Regions from separate parts of the Homo sapiens genome. Here all the other regions are linked to region 1. Evidence: promoter capture Hi-C in 16 types of primary human blood cells and fetal thymus (Javierre and others, 2016). All regions are on one chromosome and are shown on one strand. The core of a region is centred on a gene start or on the middle of the fragment in contact, and the rest is flanking DNA. Distances in the headings are between cores, read along the strand shown.

The links. Contacts are between HindIII fragments. The CHiCAGO score rates a contact against its expected background, and 5 or more counts as called.
Region 2: a fragment that was not itself captured here is called in contact with the fragment with the promoter of MOB3B in region 1 in 4 of 17 cell types (M0 macrophages, M1 macrophages, naive B cells and 1 more); the score reaches 6.4 in M0 macrophages.
Region 3: a fragment that was not itself captured here is called in contact with the fragment with the promoter of MOB3B in region 1 in 1 of 17 cell types (neutrophils); the score reaches 5.3 in neutrophils.
Region 4: a fragment that was not itself captured here is called in contact with the fragment with the promoter of MOB3B in region 1 in 1 of 17 cell types (M2 macrophages); the score reaches 5.6 in M2 macrophages.

The regions. Positions count from the first base shown.
Region 1 is chr9:27,528,074-27,531,571 of GRCh38, reverse strand. MOB3B (MOB kinase activator 3B) reads left to right here and starts at 1,758. Exons shown (of 4, transcript NM_024761.5): 1 at 1,758-2,017. LOC124902107 (dapper homolog 3-like) reads right to left here and starts at 3,116. Exons shown (of 2, transcript XM_047424279.1): 1 at 2,846-3,116; 2 at 872-2,552. The coding sequence starts at 3,116. The coding sequence ends at 1,564. RefSeq lists silencers at 1,711-2,010, 2,981-3,030. The HindIII fragment of the contact is 3,596 bases long and covers 427-3,498 here.
Region 2 is chr9:27,031,235-27,034,732 of GRCh38, reverse strand. The region is part of intron 13 of IFT74 (intraflagellar transport 74); the gene reads right to left. Among named protein-coding and RNA genes, the nearest start is that of LRRC19, 27 kb to the right of the region's middle. The HindIII fragment of the contact is 6,282 bases long and covers 1-3,498 here.
Region 3 is chr9:27,890,688-27,894,185 of GRCh38, reverse strand. No RefSeq gene overlaps it. Among named protein-coding and RNA genes, the nearest start is that of C9orf72, 320 kb to the right of the region's middle. The HindIII fragment of the contact is 1,763 bases long and covers 693-2,455 here.
Region 4 is chr9:27,267,378-27,270,875 of GRCh38, reverse strand. It overlaps the pseudogene REXO6P. Among named protein-coding and RNA genes, the nearest start is that of EQTN, 28 kb to the left of the region's middle. The HindIII fragment of the contact is 4,471 bases long and covers 1-3,498 here.

The DNA.
Region 1 (3,498 bases), core at 509-3,008:
AGTAGCCCTTGGACTCTGAGCACTGCTGCCCAGAGCAATATGACTGTAGGTCCAAGTTTGTCAATGACTATGCAAATGTGCTTTCTTCGCTTTTACTCTATTGTCATCTGTCTATTACAATGTTGCTATGGTGACACCTTTCCAATATCCCTGTGCTTCTTTGGTATCCTCTAAGGGGAAGCTGTAATGAAGTGGCTTGGCAAAAGAATCCTCTTGGAATTTTTTTTTTTTCATATGCTACTGAAAACCAGCATGATTTTCCTCTTATGGGAAATGTATAAAGTATGAGTTGGAAATGATGGAAATTAATCTGTACTGACTTGGGCAAGGAATGTGAATGTTATTCATTCTGTTCCAAACTACCTGAAAATATTCTCTTTCTGTTCCTACTTTCCAGGAGATAACATCTTAAGGGACACTGAAGCTTGTGCGTGTGTGAGTAGAACACGTGCTGGGGGCTCTTGAGCTCATGAGGGAGGGGCTACATGTCGGTGGGGTGATAACTGTATGCTGGAAACAATGATAGGTGGTGACCCTGGAGCACTTACCATGTGACAGGTGTTATGCTAAGCATGTTGTATGCATTCCTTCATTGAATGACAGCTACCTATATTATCCTCATTTTATAAGATGAGGTAACAGAGCTTCAGAAAGGTTAGACTCAGCTGCTATGGGTCTGTCTGACTCTGGTGTTCTTCCTCTTAAAAACTGGGGCACTTTGGAAATGAGATTCCTCGGTGATGAACAGAAATATTGCTTAGCGGCTGTATTTTTGTATCTGGCAGTTTTCCCATATTTGAGTCTTATATTCACAATCGGTATCTTTACATTACACAAAAGTGACACAGAATTAGAGTCATTTAATCCAGGGTTGATATCATTAAGTCATGACTATTTATTAAATGTTTCTTACAATATCTGAGATGATATTGCAAAAGATGTAAGTGATTTTAGAAGTTCTCACTTCGTAGTTAGTTGCAGAAACCTCTTTTGGAGGAGGGATGTTTTCTCTATATATCCTAATTTCTACTTAATATATTTCCACACCTCTTTGAAGTGTGTAGTAAGAATGGTAAAATGCAGTACTTCGTCATTTGGTACAGTTCAATCAATATGCATTAAGATGTGATCATATGGGTAATAGAAAAATGTGAAAGATCCAATTCTTTTTCTCCAGAAGGCAGGAAGCTCATATTTGATTTCTGTTACTATAAACTATAAAAACGTTTCAAATGTAGTTTACCCGTAACCATCACCCTGCAAGGGTGATATTGCTCCCCGCCAATTTACGGAGGAGAATACTGAGGCTTTAAGGTTGTAGATAGACCAAGACCACACAAGTAGAGAGTGGCGGGCTGTGGGTTGAGCTTTAAAATCCAGGTTCATCCATGACTCCCAGTGTGTTCTAGTAAATCCACTAGAATCTGAGTATTTTCCAATGATTTATGCTCCGCTCTGTGTCAGGCAGTTCATGGTATTTTTCAACAATCAGAAAATCCTGGGGAAGGCAAACTGTTTCCCCCTCTCTAGGTGCCTTGGAAGTGGCCGTTGTGGACCCAGAGATCATCCTTTCTGATCTGACACCTTCTTCACTGCCCTGGCCCAGTGTCTTTTCTGCAAGGCTGGAAGCCCCCTTAGACTGGTCATGTCCCATCTCTTTCCGGAGGGAAGATGATCCCAAAGACGACTTTTCTCTCCACGGTGCTGCCATACCGCAGGCGGCCGCCAGGGGTCCCCGCTCGGCGTCCCCGCGAGACAGTCGAGCCCCGGCCGGCTGCGCGGCGCGCTGGGTGCATGAGGGGGCTGCTCCGGAGCGACGGCGGCTGCAGCTGGAGCCAGGCGCTCGCCCGTCCGCCGGTTGGCTCGCCGGGACCTCGCGCACCGGCGGCAGAGTCCCTTGCGTGGATTGGCAAGCGACGCCCCACCTGCCCCGAGCTCACCATTTTCTTTCGCGCTGGCTGCAGCTGACCCGGCGAAGGGAGCCGACCGGGCCCTGGGCTGGAGGTAAAACCCCACGGTGAGTAAGAACCCGCTCCAAGCTAGGGGAGGCGGCGCAGCCCGGTGGCTGCTCGCTCCCGATCTCGCCCGGGCGGGCGGCGAGGTTTGGGGCGCACCTGGGCGCGGGTGCAAGAAGGTGCGGGAGGCGGCGGACCGGTCTTCTGCCCGCCGGCCACGGGCTTCCGGGGCTGGAGTCCTCTTCAGACCCCTGCCGGCGCCTGGGTTTCTGGCCGGCTCCTCGTGTGCACTTCCCGGCAGGAACAAGGGTCGCCCACTTTCCACCCCGGGATCTTGATTTGTCCTTGATTTGAAAAGATATAAATCAATAAGATCGTCCTTCTTTCGGGGTGCAAGACTCCGAGCCCATCCCCAGCCGCGGACGCCTGCAGGGTGCGTGTTGGGCTGTGGGTGGCGGGAAGACAAACTTTTACAAAAGTGCGCCTGGGCTGGGGGACAACGCTTGGGCGTCCTGATCCTGAGGGAGGAGTCTCGGCTTGGGGCAGCGTAGGGGAAGTCCGCACCGTCAGCCAGGTCGCCCCCGGGGCTGACGATGCCTCACGGAGGTGGGGAGCGTGTAAAGGCCGTACAAATCGCGCTTAACTTTGGGGCCAACAACTGTCAAACATCTGGAATCCCAGCCCCTCCCTTTCCCTGAACTGGGGAAGAAGGTGAAAACCCTTCAAGTTTTCTTTGATTGCCCCTTCCCACCTTCAGACCCCTGCTGGGAGGGTAAAGCGCCGACCCCTGGTGCCTGGCAAGTACCAGAGACTCTAAATCTCTCGGGATCCCCCCCCTCGCGCTCTTTCCTGACCCTCTCCCCTAACCCTCCCCACAGAGATCTCTCTACGCAGCCGACTGAGATCGTGGCGAATGGCCTTTTGTTTCTCCGCGTTTCCCCTATTGTTTGCCTTTCCAACATCTGGCGGGGCTTGGGGAGAGAAGGAAGCCCCTCTGGTCCCCCTCCCCGGCCCCCACGCCAGCTCCGGCAGGGGATCCCAGCTGGGAAAGTGGAGGAGCCCGACCCCAGCGAGGCCGCCCCACCCCGCCCTTGTGGTTAGAGGGCGGAGGGAAAGTTGTTCCTTCCCCGCCTCCGCTGCTGCCTGTGGCCCAGGGCGCATTTCTCAGATCTCAGCCCAGGCGCGCCGCAAAGGCTCAAATCCGAGAAGGTGCTGCTTTCGAGACAGTGGAAGCGCGTTCCGCCCCAATCCAGAGCGTCCAGTGGTTGGTTCCAGAGGATTTCAATCTCTAGCCAAAGGCGTTGGGGCTGGGCCGCTGCTAGGGCAGTGGGAGGGGATCGGGGCACCTTTGGTAGGCGGAAAGCTGAGATTCTGGGGTCCACAAGTTTCCAAGGGCGGGAGGGCAGGCTAGTCGCCAAAAAGAGAACGAAGATGCAAATAACGAGGAAGCCTTATGACGTTGCCTGGAAATAGTAGTGTGGTGGTTCACTCCGGAATGAACGTGGAGTTCTGGCTTTGAGTACCGCTCCAAGTTTAAATCCCA
Region 2 (3,498 bases), core at 253-2,752, 500 kb after region 1:
CATGGAGAAACCCCATCTCTACTAAAAATACAAAAAATTAGCCAGGTGTGGTGGCGCATGCCTGTAATCCCAGCTACTTGGGAGGCTGAGGTAGGAGAATTGTTTGAACCTGAGAGGTGGAGGTTGCGGTAAGTCAAGATCACACCATTTTACTCCAGCCTGGGCCACAAGAGAAAAACTCCGTCTCAAAATACATAAATAAATAAACAAATAAATAATAAATAAAAGTATTCTGTCTTTAACATTGTTTATTTTACCCTCCATAATTAAAGAAACAATGGTCCTAACCAAGGCTTTAGAACTCTGAGTATGAAAAAGTATACTATAGACAAACCAAAGTATTATATTTTGTTATTTTACTACTTTGAATGACACATATATATTATGCAGAAAGTTACAATGAATTCATTCAGAATTTAAGACAGTAATTCAATATTCCTATAGCACTTTGCATATATTTCTATTATGACATATTTACCACATTGTAGCAACTAGTTATTTATATGTATTATGGTATTTTAATAATCATATATTTGGTTTTACAATCAACTCCACATTTGGGAAAATACTTGAATCTGGAAAGTAATCATTTTTGGTGAGTAATAATGCCCAATAATCCCTCCTGGAGAGACATATGACAGTGACCGTACAACATTTGTTAACTCTATTTGTCAATCCTACTGTGTATATATTAATAGATGCTCAGAAAATTAGCCCCATCTTGTGGATCGCGGTGGTACTACAAATTCAGGCCTAACAGTCAAAACTTCGGAACTGTCAGTGATGTGTACCTTATCTTGACTGACAAAAACTAAAAAACTTATGGCTAGCATTGGTAAGGAACCACCTTCACATACTGCTTTTGGTTGTATAACATAATACAACCTTTTCTGGGAAGAAATTTGCAAACCAGTTGTAAATATAAATAATATTCCATTCAAAATTTCACTTCTAGAAATTTATTCTGTGGAAATAAACAGACAAGTTATAAACATGAATGTACTAGTGCAGCACTGTTCTTGGGAGTAAAAAATTAGAAACAGCCTAAATATCAATGTGGATACAATGAATCCTATGTAACAACAATCATAGGGGTAGCTAATGGTTGTCAGAAGCGCTTAATGTGCACCAGGCACCATTTTTTTTTTTTTTTTTTTTTGAGACAGGGTCTCACTTTGTTATCCAGGCTGAAGTGCAGTGGCATGATTTTGGTTGGAGTGATTTCGGCTTACTGCAGCCTCGACTTCCGAGGTTCAAGTAATCATCCTACCTTAGCAAATAGCTGGGACTACAAGTCAAACACACATCACCATGCCTGGCTAATTTTTGTATTTTTTTGTAGAGACAGGTTTTCGCCCTGTTGCCCAGGCTGGTCTCGAACTTCTGAGCTCAAGCAATCCACCCCCCTCAGCCTCCCAAAGTGCTAGGATTATAGGCATGAGCCACCACACCTGTACCAGGCACCATTCTTAAGTCTGACTTTAGAGCCCTAACATTGACCACTATGCTATACCATTTCTCAGAATGAAGTATACATCCTCATAGGGAAGAATGTATATTATACAGTTAAATGAAAAGACTCAAGCTCAGAAGAACTGTATATTAGTATTACTCCATTTAAAAATATGTTTATCAATGTATTAAAAGTCTAAAAGCCTAAACATTAAACTGTAAACCATGATTACCTCTGAAGACTTGGATGAGGAGAAAGGAGATGACATTTTACTTTATATACTTTTCTGCTTGCATTTTTCATGTTAAATACATGCCAGATTCATATTTAAAATTACAATTTTAAAAAATTAATCTGAATCTTTAAAATAATTTTAAGTAGTTTAAAAGACTTTTTTTTTTCTTTTTTTTCTTGAGATGGAGTCTTGCTCTGTCGCCCAAGGCTGGAGTGCAGTGGCGCGATCTTGGCTTACTGCAACCTCTGCCTCCCGAGTTCAAGCGATTCTCCTACTTCAGCCTCCTGAGTAGCTGGGATTACAGGTACACACCACCATGCCTAGCTAATTTTTGTATTTTTAATAGAGATGGGGTTTCACCATGTTGGTCAGGCTGGTCTCGAACTCCTGACCTCATGATCCGCCTGCCTCAGCCTCCCAAAGTGCTGGGATTACAGGCGTGAGCCACTGCACCCGGCCAGGACACTTTTTTTTTAAGCTGAAAAGGATGACCTCCTATAAGCTGAGGCTAATTGCCCAGTTAATGAAAGCATGAGGATGGTCATTTAAGGCAAAACACACAAAAAAAATCTTTTTAAAAATAAGTAAAATGATCTACCTTCAAGGTGCTTAAAGTTTCAGAAATTCTAGGTAATTAAGGCTTATAATTGTCATTTCCTGGTATGAATGGCACGTTGAACATGCACATCTAATTTTGATCCTCCCGCAAACCCCACTAAAACTATAGCAAAAAGAATTTTTAAAGGTAGAAACCCCCAGCATATAGAAATAGGAGACAACAGCAATAACATTTTGGAAGCTGAAAGGAGATGGAGAACTGGTAACTGACCTAGCAGACTTGAGAAAGTTGAAATCTAAGCCAGCATTGGGTGAAGCTGAGAACTACCCTGATTTCAAAAGGCTCAGTATTTTTGCATAGAAAACTGATCACTTTTTTTGTGATTTGTGTAAGGCTTTGACATGTCTTATAATAGTAATGCTGTTCTTTATAGAATTTATTCAATGTAAGGGAATACACTAGTAAAGAGTAAAACACCAGGCACAGTGGCTCACACCTGTAATCCCCACACTTTAGGAGGCCAAGGCAGAAAGACTGCTAGAGCCAAGCACGTTGAGATCAGCCTGGGCAACAGAGCAAAACCCTGTCCCTACAAAAAAAGTTTTCAACAATTAGCTGGGCATGGTGGTGTGCACCTGTAGTCCTAGCTACTCAGGAGTTTATTTTACATTTTATTTTATTTTATTTTACATTTTATTTTATTTATTTTATTTTATTTTATTTTATTTTATTTTATTTTATTTTATTTTATTTATTATTTTATTTAGCTAAGGCAAGAGGATCACTTGAGCCCAGGAGTTTGAGGCTGCAGTGAGCTATGTTGTCACACCACTGTACTCCAGCCTGGGTGACAGAAAGACCCTATCTCATTAAAAAAAAAAAAAAAAATGAGTAAAGTTAAGGGCCTGATTTCAGCTAAGTGGTCGAAGAAACTATTTACTCTGAAGGACTTCAATATAAGATATAAACTCTCAAGTATTAATCTGTAGTAAGAATAAAAGAATTTCTTTTTTTTTTTTAAGACGGAGTCTCGCTCTGTCACCCAGGCTGGAGCATAGAGGCGCGATCTTGGCTCACTGCAAGTTCCGCCTCCTGGGTTCACACCATTCTCCTGCCTCAGCCTCCTGAGTAGCTGGGACTACAGGCGCCCACCACCAGGCCCGGCTAATTTTTTGTATTTTTTAGTAGAGACAGGGTTTCACCGTGGTCTCGATCTCCTGACCTGGTGATCCGCCCACCTCGGCATCCCAA
Region 3 (3,498 bases), core at 325-2,824, 360 kb before region 1:
TTTTTTATAACGTCTGGAGATTTTGAACCTAATTATAACTACTTACTGACTGAACTCCAAGAGATGCTTTGCTGAGATGCATAGCTTGGTTTGCTTTACACCATCTCCTCATTGAAACAGTCATATTAGAAAAAAAAAGAAAGCTTTTCAATAATGTATTGCTTGTTGGTCCTTAGAGTTTCAGCTCTCTGAGCCTCAATTCTACCTTTTTTTTAAAAAAAAAAAAAGGAGGACTGGGAAAATACTTGATTACAATATAGTCTTTAATTATATTATTTACTCCTTTGATGATGACATGTAGTAAATCAAATATAGGAAATGGCCAAAGATAAATAAATGGCTTTAATAAGTTTCTCAGGCCCAAGTTTTGAATGGCTTTAGGTATCTTTGGAATAGAGCAGCTCAAAAGGCAGAGACCAGGACATCTGCTGGTCTTTCATACAGGTACATGTAGATAACCTAGGAAGAAAATGATAGCACTATTTCCTCTACCTCCTCCTCCTCTTCCAACCTCCACCATGAGATTGATTGTGCATTCCAGGTTATCCCTATGGCCTCCTTCACAGGGACAGCTACACCCAGGCCATCACCATTTCTTTCCCAGAAAAGGATTCCAATATTAAGGTAGATGTTATGTTTATTATTCTGCTTCCAGGTCATAAATCCATTAGATCCTGAAAACTCTTAAAGCTTGGGTCTCACTTTTCCTAATGCTATTGTGTTCTCAAGCCTTGAATAAGTGGTTGTAATAATCTATCTATACCTGTCAAAAACTGCATGAGAATTCCCTACTCTTATTGAACTGAGCAGCAAATGTCAGAGTTAACTTACAGTGCTGTTTTAGCTAGATGCCCATCAAGGACTTTACAGGATTTGCTGGCTTCCTGGGGATATAAGCACATTCAACAAATCCAGAATCAACTCAGTCAGGCCACAGAGGATCTTCAGCCCCATTATTTCCAGACATCTGACCAAAATTTAACCTCTTCCCACACTATAGCCGCATATCTGGTAAAGCAGAATTACTCTTTATTTCTTCAGGGCCTTTCCAGTGCCTGCCCCTGGATTATAAATCAAAAAGGAAAAGTGGATACACGGAGTAAATATCCCCACTCTTTCTGACTGCTGAGATGAACCAAGAGTTAAGTAGCATCTGTTGATTTTCCTGTCAGGATATCCACAAACATGTTTTTTATTATAGTAATATAATTTAATAATAGAAATTATCTAAATGAGAAGATGACCACATCATCAATCCTCTAACAAATAAGGTGCTAACATTTCCAAATTAAGTATAGCTTTATCTATAGATAAATACATTTAAGTTGTCTTGGTACCTAGAGAAACTTTAGCCATTCTGGATAAGGCATTTAGTTCAGGCCCTGAGTCCCCAAGGCCTAACCAACTCCCAACTCCCTGAGCTGACTGAGGAAAGGGTGGGGAGGAGGAAATCGTTCTGAGGAAGATCCTGGCCAGGCCCCTAAACAAAGTGAGAGCAGCAGACAAATGACCCCTCAGCAAGGGCATGGAGGATCCTGGGAAGCAGAGGAGCAGCGGGTGCTATAGGGCCAGAAACTTAATTGAGGCCATCTAAACTTGGCACACAGACTGGTCAGCGCAGACTTTTTCAGCATTTAGTCTGAAAACTTATCTTTTGCACACAAAGTGAAAAAATACATTTTTAAGAAACAGAAATTCAATCTCAATTTACTCAGTGTTCGACCTGGGCAGTAAATTATTTTCTTTAATCAAACTGATACAGAATTTTAAACCATTTTAAATGAATGAGAAACAGCCTGCTCTGAAACTATATCTGATTATTAAGAGAAGTTATTACCACAAAGGACCTGAAGATAAGTTTCAAGGTAATTCCTCATAAATAATACACAGAGCCAGGCTCTCTTGTTTTCCCCTTGGTGTCGACATTCAGATTTGAACAACTCTAGCCTTAAAAATAGCTATCTCACCATCAGCCAATTCAAACTACAGTGCTTGGGACATGGCAAATTTTCAAAAGCACATCATAGCTCCAGACTTTTGAGACTCTTTTATATGTACATACACTTCTTCTGAGGCCAAGGTAAACCGGAAACTTCAGTTGCTATGTTATTCTTTTTAATATAAATGTGCATTTGATGTTGAAAGATACATCAATTATTTTTAGAAGAACTTTGGCATTGTATTACAATGCTAACATGTATATTTAATATACCTAGCTTATAAGTAATAGAGAAATATTTCTTAGCTTAAAATGAAAACTAGGAGATGAGAGGAAGATGAAAGGTGAAAAAGGAGAAGATTGTGTCAGCATCTATCTTTAAGGAACACACTCAATCATGCTTTTGCTGAACAGCCTGCCTGGCAGTCTGTTGGAAGAGGAAGGTAAGATTCAGGTAAGAAGATCACGTAGTTGGGCTGTGGCAAGCCATCGACAGCCTCGAAATGCAGCAAAGCTTTAAACGCTCATGCTAGAAAATAAGAAAAGTAAAAATTAATGCCAACAATGAAAACTAATGAAAGTCCAAAGAATTAAGATGATCAACAAAGTCATCAACTGATTATTTGAGGAAAAAAATAATAGACAAATTTCTGAAGGAAATTGAAAAAGAGAAGATGGAAATTATGTTAGTATGGATTAAAAGGGAGGGAACTGGAGATTACATAGAGATTTAAAAGAAAATAAAATACTATGAGTAATTTGATGCCAACACATGTGAAAAACGAAACATAAGGAATTCCTAGAAAAGTATAAATTCCAAAGCTGACTCAAAAGAAATATAATATTTGATACTATAACTGCTACACTATTTTAAAATAAAAAAATGTTTCATGAAAATAAACAAGGCCACCATAGTTTTACAAAGAAGTTCTACCAAACATTCAGAAACATCTAGCGAATCTAAGGCAAAATTTGTTAACGAAGAGAAAAGAGGAAGTGTTCTCAATAATTTTAAGAGTCTACTATAACCTTTATACCAATACCAGACAAAAACATTATGAATATATATGTAAAAATATATTCTATTTTGACTGAGTCATTTCATTTTGCATCAGACTACCTCTTGTAGCCTGAAAAACTAGAAAAGTTGAATAAATTTCAGAGCATCAGAGTGATACCAATGCAGCCAGGATTTGACATTTTAAGAAAGAAAATGATTAAAATTTTCTTGTGGTTCCTGTAAACAAGATACATTTAAATATCAAGCACATATAAATATCAATTTGTGCCAAAAACAGAGAAAACAATTTTTAAAAAATAAGGGATAATTTAAGAGTAGACTTTACAAAAGATCATAACTCTGTCACTCAAACTCGAATATAAAAACATATGGGAAGATATATCATATTCTTGACCAGAAACCCTTGTCTTGTTTTTTATCAATGTCCTACTAATCAAACTATAGACTTAACTAGAATCTAATCAAAATGCTGACAGGGCCCTTCGTGGAAGTTGACAAGCCTATTATGAAATTTATATGCAACAGTAAAGGATCAAGA
Region 4 (3,498 bases), core at 297-2,796, 260 kb after region 1:
CCTCTGCCTTCCAGCTTCAAGCGATTCTCCTGCCTCAGCCTCCCAAGTAGCTGGGATTACAGGTGCATGCCACCATGCCCAGCCATGTTTCTATGAATTTTCTTATTCTATTTATCTCATGTAATTGAAATGATATACTGTTTGTCCTTGTATGTCTGACTTCTTTCATTTAGCATAATGTTTTAAAGGTTTATTCATGTTGTAGCATGTATTCAAATTTTATTTATTTTTACAACTGAATAACACTTTACGGTATGTATAACCATACTTTTGTTATCCATTTTGTTCACTCAATAATGGATGGAGATTGTAGTTTTCTTTGCAGTAATGATTCTGTCTCTTTTTTGGTCTCAGGGTTATATTGACCTCATAGAATAAATTGGAAAGTGTTCCCTCCTCTTTTATTTTTTGGTTTATAAGACAGCCTTAGCTTTCACTTCCTGCTTGTGCAGGGCCTCAAGGTTGGCCACTGGTGAATGAATAGGATTTTCTCTTTTCCCAGGTCTTAAATGGAACACTTGTTAAACCCAGGATTATGTCAGAGCCTTTACAAATCTCTAGGGTCATCTAGTTCTCCAAGAGTTTCTTTTAAATTCCTAGCCAAACTATTGTTTGCCAGACTAAAACCATAGCCCTAGCTAGCTGTGATATTGCCAGGATATTGCTATTGTTTCAGTTGCACCCTGGAGATAGGGTTTTTTCCCTCCATACTCTGAACTCTGAGTCAAATCAAATACCCACAACACCCTAGGAATAGAGATTTTTCAGGGAACTGGTTTTTTGTTTGAATATTGATAGTGCTCTAGCAATAATGCTTTTAGTATGGTTCTAAAAAAGATATGTCTACTCTGTTGGCTCTCAGGGCCAACCTTTCACAACCGTGGCGCCACTAAGCTGGGAAGGGAAGGGAGGTAGGAATTTCACAGAACCCACTGTGTTACCAAGGTTCAGTAGTTTCTCTTAGACAATTTTCAGTTTGTTCTGTGGCTTTAGTTATTAGAATTTTGAAATGGTTGATTTTTAGTTGTTTTGCCAATATTTTTATTGCTTTTGTGGGACAGTAAGTTCATGAAGGTTCTCGCTCTACTATTCCAGAAGTCTGTGTCCTCTAGGATTCTATGTAGGTTAAAGAATAATGGCAAAAATAAAAAGGGACAATATGAGCCTCTTATGTGTTGTTCATTTTCTTCCAGCTTTGTCTTTTTTCATCATGTGTCTTTTCTTCCTTACTCCCTCTAACCTCCCATGGCTTTATCTCTGATGATTTAGTGTAATGAGAAGAGTCTTGGTGGCATTTGGGTACACCTAGGTTCAATTACCAGCTCTGTAACAATAAGCAAGATGTTTCCTTTGTTCAAGCCTAGTTTCATCATATAAATCAGTGATGACACCCATTCTCATACAGTCATAATGAAGATTAAATGAGAAAACATTTAATATGCTTAAAACAAACCTGCATATACTAGGTATATAAATTAATAATATATTTAATATTTATTATCATAACACTCCATTTGCTTGTTTCTTTCATATTTCATTCCTTTTCCTTTTACTGACTTAATGACCCTTGGTATAAAAATAATTATGTAATGGTTTCAGGAAGGTAAATTTTATAGAAGAAAAAATGAAGATCATGTCCTCCATTTGCTGTGTAATCCTAAGCAAATTAACCACTTTGAGCCTTAGTTTCTTTTAAATGGAAATAGTAATATATGCCTCTGGTATATTTGGGGCTGGCTGTGAGAATCAAATGAATTGATGTATATTCTCAGCTTTGTATAGGTATTGCACTATATACCGTATACCAATATACAGTAGCCTTTTGTCTATGAAGCAAGAGTATCTGGTTCTTGGGTTGGAGTCATAGAACTGTTTTTTTTCTTCTTTTTTTGAGACAGAATCTCTCTCTATCCTCCAGGCTGGAGTGCAGTGGTGTGATCTCGACTCAATGCAACCTCCACGTCCCAGGTTCAGGCGATTCTCCTGCCTCAGCCTGCGGAGTAGCTGGGATTACAGGCACCTGCCACCACGCCGGGCTAATTTTTGTATTTTTAGTAGAGATGTGTTTTCACCATGTTGGCCAGGCTAGTCTCAAACTCCTGGCCTCAAGTGGTCCACCCACCTCGGCCTCCCAAAGTGCTAGGATTACAGACGTGAGCCACCATGCCCGGACTATTTTTTTTTTTTCTTCTTAAAAAACAAACACAAAATGGAAAATAAGTTGCTTTTCATTGGTGGCACAGTTTTCCCCCATTCATTAAGTTACATAAATATTTTGCCATATTCATTATATTGCAAATGACATTTCCTGTTCATAGGCTTTTGGCTTAATATTTAATTATTCAATTTTTGACCTAGGCTAAAATAGAAAAAAAGGCAATATATGAAAGGTGTAGCAGGAGAAATATGTATGTGAACATAGCAGTAAATTATCTTAAGAAGCTAAGAGATCAAGGTAATTTATTTTTTTCAATTAATCAAGTGATAAAACCTGTAATTAGTACCTGACCCTGAATACTTTTTCTCATTAGTAGGGCCATCTTTAGCTTATACCAAGGAATTTATTTTTTAAATAGTCTCTTTAGTGGAATGTGTAGGTGGTACTTGTGGTTGAAAATCAGCTGCATTTGAAATTGGATGTATAACTATAACCTTATTGTCAGAGGTTATCACTGAAATATTTAAACTTGTTTTCTGGTTATGAAAGTAACTCACTTCTATGCGGAATAGCATTTCTCAACCTTGTTTTCGTTATCGTCCCCCTAAGAAATCTTTGCAGACATTATTTTTTCTATCACCTCCCTCTTCCCCCTTCATAAAATTAAGTGCCGCTTTAGGAGATACACCTAATGCTAAATGACGAGTTAATGGGTGCAGCACACCAGCATGGCACGTGTATACATATGTAACTAACCTGCACATTGTGCACATGTACCCTAAAACTTAAAGTATACTAATAATAAAAAAAAATAAGTGCCAAGGGATAAGATTTTATTAGGTAAGGTTGAATTTTGAAGAACCATATACCATCATAGTATTTAAGATTTTCTTCATCCCTCAAGAGTCAATTTTGCTCCCTTGTGGGCAGTATCAGTTCCATCAAGAATGTATGGCATGAATTCAAATAATATAGAAAAACATAAAGAGTAAAAAGCAGCCAAGACAACTCTTTCATATTTCTTATTTAGACCTTTCTATGTATTACTACAGAGATGTATATAGTTTTAAAATTTTTAGTGAATATGATAATTTTATATATACAGTATGTCTAGCTATTTTCACTGAATAAGGTATCAGAGGCCTTGTCAGTTAATCTAGAATCTGTTAACATCTGGATCTATATCATGCTTTTTATAATGGCTACGATATTCTATTATGTAGAATCTATACGATAGATATTCTTTTCTATAGAACTTATACTAAAGATACAAAAGTTAGCCGGGCGTAGTGGTGGCCCAAACACATTTGGATATTTGGAGTGCTTACATTTTTTCCTAT